Regions from separate parts of the Homo sapiens genome. Here all the other regions are linked to region 1. The links are contacts of gene promoters, found by promoter capture Hi-C in blood cells and fetal thymus (Javierre and others, 2016). All regions are on one chromosome and are shown on one strand. Each heading gives the region's core, a stretch centred on a gene start or on the middle of the fragment in contact. The rest is flanking DNA. Distances are from core to core; before and after follow the strand shown.

The links. The method cuts DNA at HindIII sites, captures the fragments that hold promoters and counts their contacts. A CHiCAGO score of 5 or more calls a contact.
Region 2: the fragment with the promoter of OR5T1 here is called in contact with the fragment with the promoter of OR8K5 in region 1 in 16 of 17 cell types (neutrophils, M2 macrophages, total CD4 T cells and 13 more); the score reaches 16.1 in neutrophils.
Region 3: the fragment with the promoter of OR5T3 here is called in contact with the fragment with the promoter of OR8K5 in region 1 in 17 of 17 cell types (neutrophils, total B cells, M2 macrophages and 14 more); the score reaches 34.9 in neutrophils.
Region 4: the fragment with the promoter of OR8I2 here is called in contact with the fragment with the promoter of OR8K5 in region 1 in 13 of 17 cell types (neutrophils, naive CD8 T cells, total CD4 T cells and 10 more); the score reaches 17.4 in neutrophils.

What each region holds. Positions count from the first base shown.
Region 1 is chr11:56,158,859-56,161,744 of GRCh38, reverse strand. OR8K5 (olfactory receptor family 8 subfamily K member 5) reads left to right here and starts at 1,428. Exons shown (of 1, transcript NM_001004058.2): 1 at 1,428-2,351. The coding sequence starts at 1,428. The coding sequence ends at 2,351. The HindIII fragment of the contact is 6,274 bases long and covers 466-2,886 here.
Region 2 is chr11:56,272,804-56,275,689 of GRCh38, reverse strand. OR5T1 (olfactory receptor family 5 subfamily T member 1) reads right to left here and starts at 1,536. Exons shown (of 3, transcript NM_001004745.2): 1 at 1,518-1,536; 2 at 937-1,054; 3 at 1-204. The coding sequence starts at 51. The HindIII fragment of the contact is 3,205 bases long and covers 18-2,886 here.
Region 3 is chr11:56,250,846-56,253,731 of GRCh38, reverse strand. OR5T3 (olfactory receptor family 5 subfamily T member 3) reads right to left here and starts at 1,478. Exons shown (of 1, transcript NM_001004747.2): 1 at 510-1,478. The coding sequence starts at 1,478. The coding sequence ends at 510. The HindIII fragment of the contact is 3,630 bases long and covers 47-2,886 here.
Region 4 is chr11:56,091,862-56,094,747 of GRCh38, reverse strand. OR8I2 (olfactory receptor family 8 subfamily I member 2) reads right to left here and starts at 1,440. Exons shown (of 1, transcript NM_001003750.1): 1 at 508-1,440. The coding sequence starts at 1,440. The coding sequence ends at 508. The HindIII fragment of the contact is 14,451 bases long and covers 1-2,886 here.

The DNA.
Region 1 (2,886 bases), core at 179-2,678:
ATAATAAATCTATTCTACATTAGATCTGTGGAAAATTCCGTTACTATTCCAATTGAAAGTCACTCTCACAGAGTTCCAGATTTTCAATGAGTGGAAACTGAAGGAGAGGGGAATTTAAGTGGAATAGGCTAAGACATCTTCACTATCTGTATCAGGGACGTTCCACTTTCTTTTATTGACTTCCCGTGTATTTTTTAAATAAAGGGAGAAGTACTTTTCATTGAAATAGTTTTAATTACAGTATTATATCTCCATGAATACTCCACTGTACAATTCCAGAAAAAAAGTCATTCACTAATATATGATGTCCTAAATTCTCAAATTATTTAAATGATTTATAGAACCTACCATCTTCACAGTGTTTTATTACAGAAAATAAAGTACATATAATTAAATAGTCATCACTGAATATTGATTTAAATCATGTTTTTGCAGAAGTGGATCCAGATTATGTGTCTTGAAGCTTAGAAGAATTTGACTTTTTAGATAAAATTACACATACAAGTTGAAAGATAAATGGGAATATTTATTTAGAATAGAAAATTAGCTTTAAATTGTAATTAGTAAACAAACCCATGGCCACAAACTATATAAAATTTATTAATATAGTATGTTAATTAATCAAATGCCAAATGCATCTCAGCATACAGGTGGCAAGAGTATCCTTAGAAGACATTCTTAAGTCAGAATAGGTAGTATTATTCAGTGATAAATATCATAGTGTCTGAATGATATAAACATATCCATTGAACATCAAATAAACTATTATTAACTCAATCCTTCTTTAGCTAGATCCCACAATGCTTGCAGAAATGTCAAGTCACTATGATATTAGTTGAAGTGTGATATACTAGAAGTTGGAATGAAAACAGAAAGCAGCCTTAATTGATCATGATTATTATATCTTACATTTGAAATTTTACAAAGATATATCATTTTTGCGTGCATTCGTAAGTCCCCACACAAGACCCTGGAAGTGCAAATGAGGGACCCCAAATCTTAACCTTCATTATCTTATTGCCATCTCTACCTCTGTCTTTGAGAATATCAAAATTACAGAAAAGTTTTACAACAAAAGTGGAAGTGAACAAAAGAAAATCATGATACCATTGTGCAGATGAAAAGAGCATAATCTTTTTGTAATAATACCTATATGGCTGTGTTATTAACCGATATACTTCAAATATTGATGAAACTATTTAATCTATGTTGTTTCAGTGCATGTATTTTACATGAATTCCTCTTTTAGGAAAGTAGAAAATTTTGCTTTATATTTCATTTCTGAATCAAATGTAGAAATAATGTTTCTATTATCTATTGTGAATAACAATCTATTCTGTCTACAAATATTATAATTTGTTTAAATAGCACTACATGGAACAGCTAATAACCCAACTGTTTCTTCCTAGAAGAGATAACTGGACTAAATGGGCCAACACAATCTAACAGTGCTAACTGAATTCATTCTGATGGAACTCACAAGGCGGCCTGAGCTGCAGATTCCCCTTTTTGGAGTCTTCCTCGTCATCTACCTAATCACAGTGGTGGGCAACCTAACTATGATCATTTTGACCAAACTGGACTCCCACTTACATACACCTATGTACTTTTCTATCAGACATTTGGCTTTTGTTGATCTTGGTAATTCTACTGTCATTTGTCCCAAGGTGCTGGCAAATTTTGTTGTGGATCGAAATACTATTTCCTATTATGCATGTGCTGCACAGCTGGCATTCTTCCTTATGTTCATTATCAGTGAATTTTTCATCCTGTCAGCCATGGCCTATGACCGCTATGTGGCCATTTGTAACCCTCTGCTCTATTATGTTATTATGTCTCAGCGACTGTGTCATGTACTGGTGGGCATTCAATATCTCTACAGCACATTTCAGGCTCTGATGTTCACTATTAAGATTTTTACATTGACCTTCTGTGGCTCTAATGTCATCAGTCATTTTTACTGTGATGATGTTCCTTTGCTACCTATGCTTTGCTCAAATGCACAGGAAATAGAATTGTTGAGCATACTATTTTCTGTATTTAATTTGATCTCCTCCTTTCTGATAGTCTTAGTGTCCTACATGTTGATTTTGTTAGCTATATGTCAAATGCATTCTGCAGAGGGCAGGAAAAAGGCTTTCTCCACATGTGGTTCCCATTTGACAGTGGTGGTTGTGTTCTATGGGTCTCTACTCTTCATGTACATGCAGCCCAATTCCACTCACTTCTTTGATACTGATAAAATGGCTTCTGTGTTTTACACTTTAGTAATCCCCATGCTTAACCCTTTGATTTACAGCTTAAGAAACGAAGAGGTGAAAAATGCCTTCTATAAGCTCTTTGAGAATTGATGTCAACTTTGTGTTTAATAATCAATTTGTAATATTGTTATAATAAATATATAATATAGATTAATGTCACTTGATAATTTTTCATGTGTATATAAATTTTCCAATTTTCAAATTTTTTTAATTGTTTTTTATTTCAATAATTTTTGGGAAGTAGGAGGTTTCTGGTTATGTGAATAAGTTCATTGGGGTAATTTCTGAGGTTTTGGTGCACTCATCACCTGAGCAGTGTACACTGTACTCAATGTGTAGCCTTTTATCCCTCGCCCACACTGCACACTTTTCCCTGTGTCCCCAAAATACATTATGTCATTCTTACCTATTTGTATCCTCATAGTTTAGCTCCCACTTATAAGTGAGAACATATGATATTTGGTTTTCCATTCCTGAGTTACTTCACTTAGAATAAAGGTCTCCAGCTCCATCCAGGTTGCTGTGAATGCCATTATTTTGTTCCTTTTTATAAGTGAGTAGTATTCCATCATATATATATATACATATATATATATATACACACACACACACATATATATAGATA
Region 2 (2,886 bases), core at 287-2,786, 110 kb before region 1:
ATTGTTTAATTGAAGCTTGTATAGATCCATATCTGAAGGCAACCCTGACATTTTAGCTATTGTTTATATGTACTAAATGCAACAGCCTGTGAAAATTAAGTTTATCCAATTATATCCTCATGTTCGTTTCTTGGAAAAGCAAGATGAAATCCTTGTCAGCAAATGCACAGGTGGTGATAAAATTGGGTCCAAGTGGATACATTACTGTAATTAAATAAATTAAATAAATTATTTTATTCAATCATGCACTAAATTTATCTTTTTAACATGGATGAAGCTGGAAGCCATCATTCTCAGCAAACTATCTCAAGAACCGAAAACCAAACACCGCATGTTCTCACACGTAAGTGGGAGTTGAACAATGAGAACACATGGACATAGGAAGGGGAACATCACACGCCAGGGCCGGTCGGAGGGTGGGAGGCTAGGGGAGGGATAACGTTACGAGAAATACCTAAGGTAGGTGTCGGGTTGATGCGTGCAGCAAACCACCGTGGCACGTGTATACCTATGTAACAAAACTGCACATTCTGCACATGTACCCCAGAACTTAAAGTGTAAAAAAAGTCTATTTAATCAGTTTAATTTCCTGTTCATTTTCCATCAAATGTACTACCATCTATTCTTAATATTAAATTGTTTCAAAACTCATAAAGACTGAGTGCTATTCCTAGGTTTTCTAAAAAGTCCATTGAATTACTTTATTTTTCTCATTTTAAATATGGAAACAATCATATCTACATTATAAGAGTGGGTTGTATTTAAATGGGAAAAACAGTATGTAAGTTATTTAATATTTAAATATGCCCAGATAACTAGAAAATGCAATGTCAGGCTTATATTAAAATTTATCATTTGAGACAGTCTTTCTGACCAAACCATTTCAAATCCTTTTTTTTTTTTTGGCAATTATCCTGCTGTTGCATTAGTACTTACAGAATGGTGGTGGATACAAGAGATTTGATTCTGGAGATAGATGCACCTTGTTTGCAAACCAAAAGAATTTGGTGTTCATTTTTCATTTATTTTTCCTTTTGTGTTTCACTTTTCTTTCCTGAAAAAAATATCACCAATTTGTTCATTTTGGCCTGTGCAGTTTTTTTAAGCATTATTATTTTTCAGATTTTAACTTAAAACCAATATCAGACGTGTCAATTTATATGATCATTTGGTCATTATGCCTGTGAAGTCCTTGGGTGTATTTTTGTGACATATTTATATCAAAAATGAATTATGGCTATCCTTTTACTATGATTCTTACGTAACTTCTGAAATTTCTATAAAATAAATACCATCCAATAACAAGTAATACAATTATTTTTATAAACTGTTGCTAAAACAACACACGTATTCTCTCCTATGATCCTTGGAAAGTATGTGATTCAATTTGTAATACAGCTTCACATTAAACAGAACCCTCTTTCTTATATTTAAATAGTAAGAAATATGTTTTAGTCTTAAATTCAAGGTGAGAGCTTCTTAATATTTTACAAGTGATCAGATTCCTTTTCTCTTACCTTTGGAAATGAACTGCTCACTCAATTCAGGTATGCTATGAATATTGTGCATTTGAATTCTTATACCAGGCCCTTGAGCTCTAGAATTCCACAGGGATGCCCAAAGAAGAAAACACACTAATTCTCTTCTGGGATAAAACAAATTATGATTTTTTTTTTTTTCTGTAGTGAACAAGTAACTGATCTGGAACATGCATTACATGATTCCAATGATCACATAAGTGTACTTTCTACCTAGGTCCAAAATAATCCCCCAGTGGAAAAAAATATGCATATTACTGAAAAAGAAAGCTAATAATACAGGCCATAGTGCTAGCTCTGATTCTAATTATCTACATGCTATCAAATTAATAACTTAAATTCTCTAAAATTCAGTTTCTTCTTGAAATTATAACCTATGAATTATCTGGAAGTCCTATTGTCACATACATAATGAAATAATATGAAAACATAACCTATGACAAGACATATAATCATTTAATAAAGGTTACTATATTTATTTAAATTTGACAGTCCTCTAATTCTAAATGGTATGAGAGAGATTTAACTTCATTGAAAATTTAATAGGCCAGGTGCGGTGGCTCATGCCTGTAATCCCAGCACTTTGGGAGGCCGAGACAGGCAGATCACCTGAGGTCAGGAGTTCGAGAACAGCCTGGCCAACATGGAAAAACCCCATCTCTACTAAAAATACAAAAAATTAGCCGGGCTTGGTGGTGGACGCCTGTAATCCCAGCTACTGGGGAGGCTGAGGCATGAGAATTGCTTGAACCCAGGTGGTAGAGGTTGGCAGTGAGCCGAGACCATGCCACTGCACACTCTAGCCTGGGTGAAAGAGTGAGATTCCATCTCAAAAAAAAAAATTAATAGAGGAGATATTAATGCACATAATTATAAGGTAAATCTATGAATAGAGAATATTAACAGAAGAGTTAGGGCAATATGCAGATGTTCTATGTAATAATTTTCTGTGAACTAGAACATTAGACTCAGATATATGGCAGAGTTAAAGGTCAATTTTTTAAGTTCTGCGAGATCTTTTCTATCTTCAAGAATTGATATACTAATCTATATACTTGTTCTTTGATATGCACATAAGAAATTATCCAAAATGTGATGAAAAATACATGGATGATCAAAAGAATGAAATGACAACAGACTAGGAGAAAATACTTGCAAGGACACATCTGATAAAAGACTGTTATCTAAAATTTACAAAGAACTGTTTAAAACTCAATAGGAACACAAACAACCTGATTTAAAAATGAGTCAAAGACCTTAAAAACCACCTAAAATGGTCAAAAAGGCCGGGTGCAGTGGCTCGCCTGTAGTTCCAGCTTCCAGCCTGAAAGGCAGAGGTTGTAGTGAG
Region 3 (2,886 bases), core at 229-2,728, 92 kb before region 1:
ATTTATGATGTAGATATAAACACAGCAAAAGGCATGTTTGGAAGCTTGAGTAGATCTCAGTTTATGAAGGCACATTTAGGGAAAGTAAAGTAAAATTTGGATATTTCTTCTTAGGGCTTATAGATTGAGGAAGTAACTCCACAATGAATGCAAAAACTTTTTATCAGCCATGTAAGCATTTATCAATTCCCAGGATTCTGTAGGATTCACTTACTAGTTATAAGTGTGTAACTGATTTTTACTTACTGTGAAAGCTGTTGTTAGTAGTGTGTGGTTGGTAACAATAACAATATATTTATATCAAATAATATTTAATATAGATCTCTGAACAAATTAATTGGCAAATATGTGATGCAATTTGTTTACATTTGAAAAATGCTGCATTGGCAGGCTGCTTAATGCTTTTTTGAAACTATTCTTTGATATGCAAATACTTTAACTAAAATATAGAGATGTGAACTCTGACACTCAACATTTTTTTCAGGTTTACTCAATTTTAAATATATTCTTCATTTGTAAACCAATTTCAACATTTTCTTCACTGCCTTTTTTACTTCTTTGTTCCTCAAACTATAGATGATGGGATTCAACTTGGGAATCACAATTGTGTAAAATATTGACACTATGATGTCATGGTCTGAAGCATAGCTGGAACTTGGTCTCATATAACTGACGAGAATTGTTCCATGATAAATTGTCACTCCAGTTAGGTGAGAGCCACATGTAGAGAAGGCCTTTTGCCTTCCCTTAGCAGAATGCATCTTCAGAATGGACAACAGAATGAAATCACAGGAAATGAGGACAATCAGGATAGTGACTATCTCAATAGAACCCACAAAGTAGAAGAGTAGAAGCTGGTTTGTGTGAGTGTCAGAACAAGAAATAGCAAGGAGAGGAGGCATATCACAAAAGACATGCCTAATTTCATTGGATCCACAGAAGGACAGGCTAAATGTAGCCACTATATGTATAGTAGCATGTAAAATGCCAGCAACGTAGGAAGCAGTGATGAGTGGCACATAGACTCTGGGTGACATGCTCACTGAATACAGGAGAGGGTTGTAGATGGCTACATAGTGATCATAAGCCATTGCAGCCAAGAGAAAACATTCTGTAGTTCCAAAAGTAACAAAAAGAAGCATCTGTGTTGCACATCCGATAAATGAAATGGATTTATTTTTTGCCAGGAAATTGACCAACATTTTTGGAGTGACAACTGTAGAATAGCAAGCATCCAAGAATGATAAAACACTAAGAAAATAATACATGGGGTTGTGGAGCCAGGAATCCTCAATGACCAACACAACCAGCCCTAAATTGCCTATCAAGGTAAAGAGATAGATTGCAAAAAATAGTAAAAATAGGAAGACTTGCAGCTCAAAATCATCTGTGAAGCCTGTCAATATAAACATGGTGACTTCAGTCTTGTTCTTCAGTGGATTCCTGTATATATCCAAACCTGATGACAACTTGTCCATTTCAGTTTTTACTTGCAGGTTATAAAGGTTATAGCCTGTGAAAGTGGAGTCCATTCAATTGTATCCTTGTTTTTTTCTTGGGGCATAATAATTTCCCTGATAGTAATGGAATAGACAATGATGAAGTAATTGGAGCCAAATAGATGAATTTCACTGTATAAGTAAAAGGAAAAAAAATATGTAATTAATTTCTTGGCTAAATTTATCATGTTTTTAAAAAACCCTGCTAATTAAAGTGATTTTATTTTCCAGTTAATTTTCAGTTGAAATTTTTACTGCTTCCTCTCATATTATGTCCTAAAGCTCACAAAGATTGCTGAATGTAGAAATATTTAAAACTAAATATGTTATAGTGGAAAGCACACACTTGAGTACACTTTTAGATTTGTGATGAAGTACATGAAATGTCTTTTGTAAATGTTCACAATTTTAAAATAAGAGAAACCACACTCACAGCACAGTTGAATTTAAATGTTTAAAAATATCAAAACTATTTAATTTAAAAGGCTTCCAAATGACTAGAAAATGGGGATAAGTCAGACATACATTTCAACTTGTCGCATGCAGCAGCCTTTTTAAATAAAACCATTTCATGTCCTCTGTTCTGGCAATTATCTTGTTCCATTACATAGAAGAGCAGACTGTATTCTGGAGATAGACGTACCTTTACAAACATTACAATGTGTTTTATTTTCAGGATTTTTTCTTCCTGAAATATATATCACCTAGTTGGCAAATTTTGGCCTCTGTACCTTGTTTATCATAACTGTTTTTAAATTTCAACTTAATAACAATGTGAGATATATCTTACTAATAATTCATATGTTTGTTATTTTTGCAAAGTCCTTGGATGTATTTTATTTTATTTTATTTTATATTTCTGTTAAAAATAAATCATGGCCATTCTTTTAGTATATTATAGTTGCTTTTAGAGTTTCTAAAATTACTATGAAATAAAAATCACCAATAATAACTAATAAAAATTATAGAATATCTGGCTAAAAAATAACATTACTATATTTGCAAGAAAGTAGTGTTTGTCCTCTGGACTTCTTTCCTGATGGTATCATTCTGTTTCACATTGACAAGTATGAAGAAAGACAATTACACAACCAAAAATAAATAAATAATTAAAAGAAAAAAGGTAACAAGGTTACAGGGACTTCTGTATCTAGACTGAAAACCTGTTATTGAAACGGTTTAGTACTACATACACTAAATTTAGAGGTAAAATTAGAGGGGAGATTTAAGCAAGGTGACTTTGTTTTTCTTTTATCATGTCATAGATTATGAAAGTTTTAAAAGGGGTGACAACTCTGTCATATGCAGGTCCATTCTGAATTCAGTGACTTACAAATGATTTATATTCATGATGTGAGACATACCAAAATTTTGTCATGTTAAGATG
Region 4 (2,886 bases), core at 191-2,690, 67 kb after region 1:
AGCACATAATGGAGAATGGGTTATCCTTGTTATCAAGCATTTATCCATCGAGTTATTATGTTGGTGCAAAGTAATTGATGTTTTTGCTGTTTTCTTTTTTAATGACAAAAAACTACAATTACTTTTGCAACAATCTAATACAAACAATCCAGTTATGTGATATAAGCTGGGCACAGAATGACAAAAATTGCATGTTCTTAATGTAATAATTTTAAACATGTTTCAGTGTGATGGCATGCTTATATATGCATGTTCAGGTGCCTCTTATTTCCTTGTACATGTCTATGTCTGAATAATTTATATGCCGAATTGACCTCCAAATACAGTGAGTTAGTGGTCCATATAAACAAATGAAATAATAATTCAATTCACAAACTTCAAGACTCTAAGTTCTCATTTAGTTTGTGTTATGCTTTTTGAGGTTACTCTACTATTTTCCTAGTTGTTGGCATAACTGAATTCCTGAAGCCATCCACCTTTGTTTTAATTGTAACATACATAAATTTGTCATGGAAAAAGTTTTCTATGTATGACTCTCAGAAGAGCATTTTTCACATCTTTGTTCCTCAGACTGTAGATGAGTGGATTCAGCATGGGAATGACAATCGTATAGAATACAGATGCCACCTGCGCCTGGGTCAGCGATGATGTGTTATCAGGTTGCAAATAGGTGAAAATCAGAGACCCATAAAAGATAGTTACAGCCATGAGGTGGGATGCGCAGGTGGAGAAGGCCTTCTGCCTGCCTGCTGCTGACTGGATCCTCAGGATGGCTGAGATGATGATGATATAAGTGACTGTGATGATAAGGAGAGAGCTAAGAAGAGTGAATCCAGCTAAGACAAAGCTCACCATTTCTGTGCCGAATGTATCTACACAGGAGAGTGCTAAAAGAGCTGTGGTGTCACAAAAAAAATGATTGATGCTGGAATCACAGAACGCCAAACTGCTTATCACCCAGACAGATATCAGCGAGCTTGTGAAGCCTATCACATATGGCATTACTCCCAGCCAGTTGGACACTTTTTGGGACATGACTACTGAATACAGTAAGGGATTGCAGATTGCTATGTAGCGATTGTAGGCCATTGATCCCAGAAGGAAACACTCACAACACACCAATCCAACAAAAAAGTACATTTGAACAAAGCAGCCAACAAAGGAGATGGATCTCCGATTGGATTGGAAATTCACCAATGCCTTAGGTGTTACAGTAGAGGAGTAAAATATGTCAATAAATGCTAAATTGCTCAGGAAAAAGTACATAGGGGTGTGAAGCTGAGAATCCATTCTGATTAACGTGATCAGTCCCAGGTTTCCCAAAACAGTGAATAGATAAATGAAGAGAAACATCAAGAAAAGACTGACTTGTAATTCAGGGTGATTTGCAAATCCAGAGAGGATGAAGACGGTAACCTCAGTGAAATTGTTGCCAGCCATTTACATCAACTCAGGCCTTTGACTTACCTGCTGAATAACAATAAGGAAAGTTAGAGAAGGATTCAAATCTAAAGGCCCTATAATCAAATTTGACTTAGACTCCAATCATGAAAGTTTTACAAATGGAAAGTAAAATTTAATGACCTGAAGTTAGCTAGAGATTTACGGATAATTTTTATTTTTTATAAAACTGAAAACTTACAGACATTAATACAGAAAAAAACTCAAATTCACGATTGTGTAGACTAAAAAATACATGTCTGGAAAGATGTGTAGAAATTCCTCCTAAGATGTACCATTCTCTACCCCTGTCTGTCATTGGGTCTGGCAATTTATCTAATGAAATCAATTGTATCTAACAAATATAGCAAATTATCAAATGAAATTAATTGTATCTAATGAATATAGCAACTTATCTAATGAAATCAATCTGTATCTAATAAATATAGCAAGTTATCTAACAAAATGAATTGTATCTAATGAATAGAGCAGTTTATCTAATAAAAAATTCAGTGAGATAAGACCAAATGAGGGCCTTCATCTATAACATAGTTTAAATTCTTTCATGTATGTTTGTTCAAACAACATGATTGTTTCTAGATATATTGCATATATTAATCTATGACATCAGGTGCTAGCCAATTCATTGCTGAACAGCAGTTTTTAAGACAATGATATAAATAAATGTTAAAAACAGTAAAACAAACCTGATTTGTTACATTTAAAAATAAGAATTAAATTATAAGGTGGGCATGCTAGAAACTAAAGAACTTTATTGCCTAATTAACTTAACATAAATATATGACGAATAAATGCATTTGAAACTAGCCCGCCAAGCAAAGTTAAATAATCACCTTTGTTTAGACATTTAGCACTCTCCTTGAGTAACCAAATGGGACTTGATAATAATTATTATCAATAATAATAATATAACATATTATTCTTATTATATATCACATGTACTTAATCATTTAATGTGTTCCATGGTCACAGTGTTCCTATTTATCCATTCATTTACTTGACAAGCATTTATTCAATGAAGGCATTTTGTCTTGCCTGTCATGAAGGGCATTTTTCTTAAAGCCTAATGTAAGATGCAGACATTAAAAAAATAACAAGTTTCCCAATGTGAGAAACATGCAAACTATACTCACAGACAGACAGACACACAAATTTTAGGAAAAAGCAGATGAGAAAATTAGATGTACCTGGGATTCAGTCACCCAGAGGAAACATCCTATGTTTCAGCAATCTTTCACTTATTTTCAAGTTCATTATTTTTGCCTCATCTACAATGCTAAATATCAAATAACAAAAGTTGTTATTTAGTATAGAGCTCTATTTCCTGTATAATGGACCCTAAATGTTATGATGTTGATGAAAAAATGTTGATGGTTTTGATGATAGTATTAGGTACTGTATATATTACCTTTCATTGATAGGCTA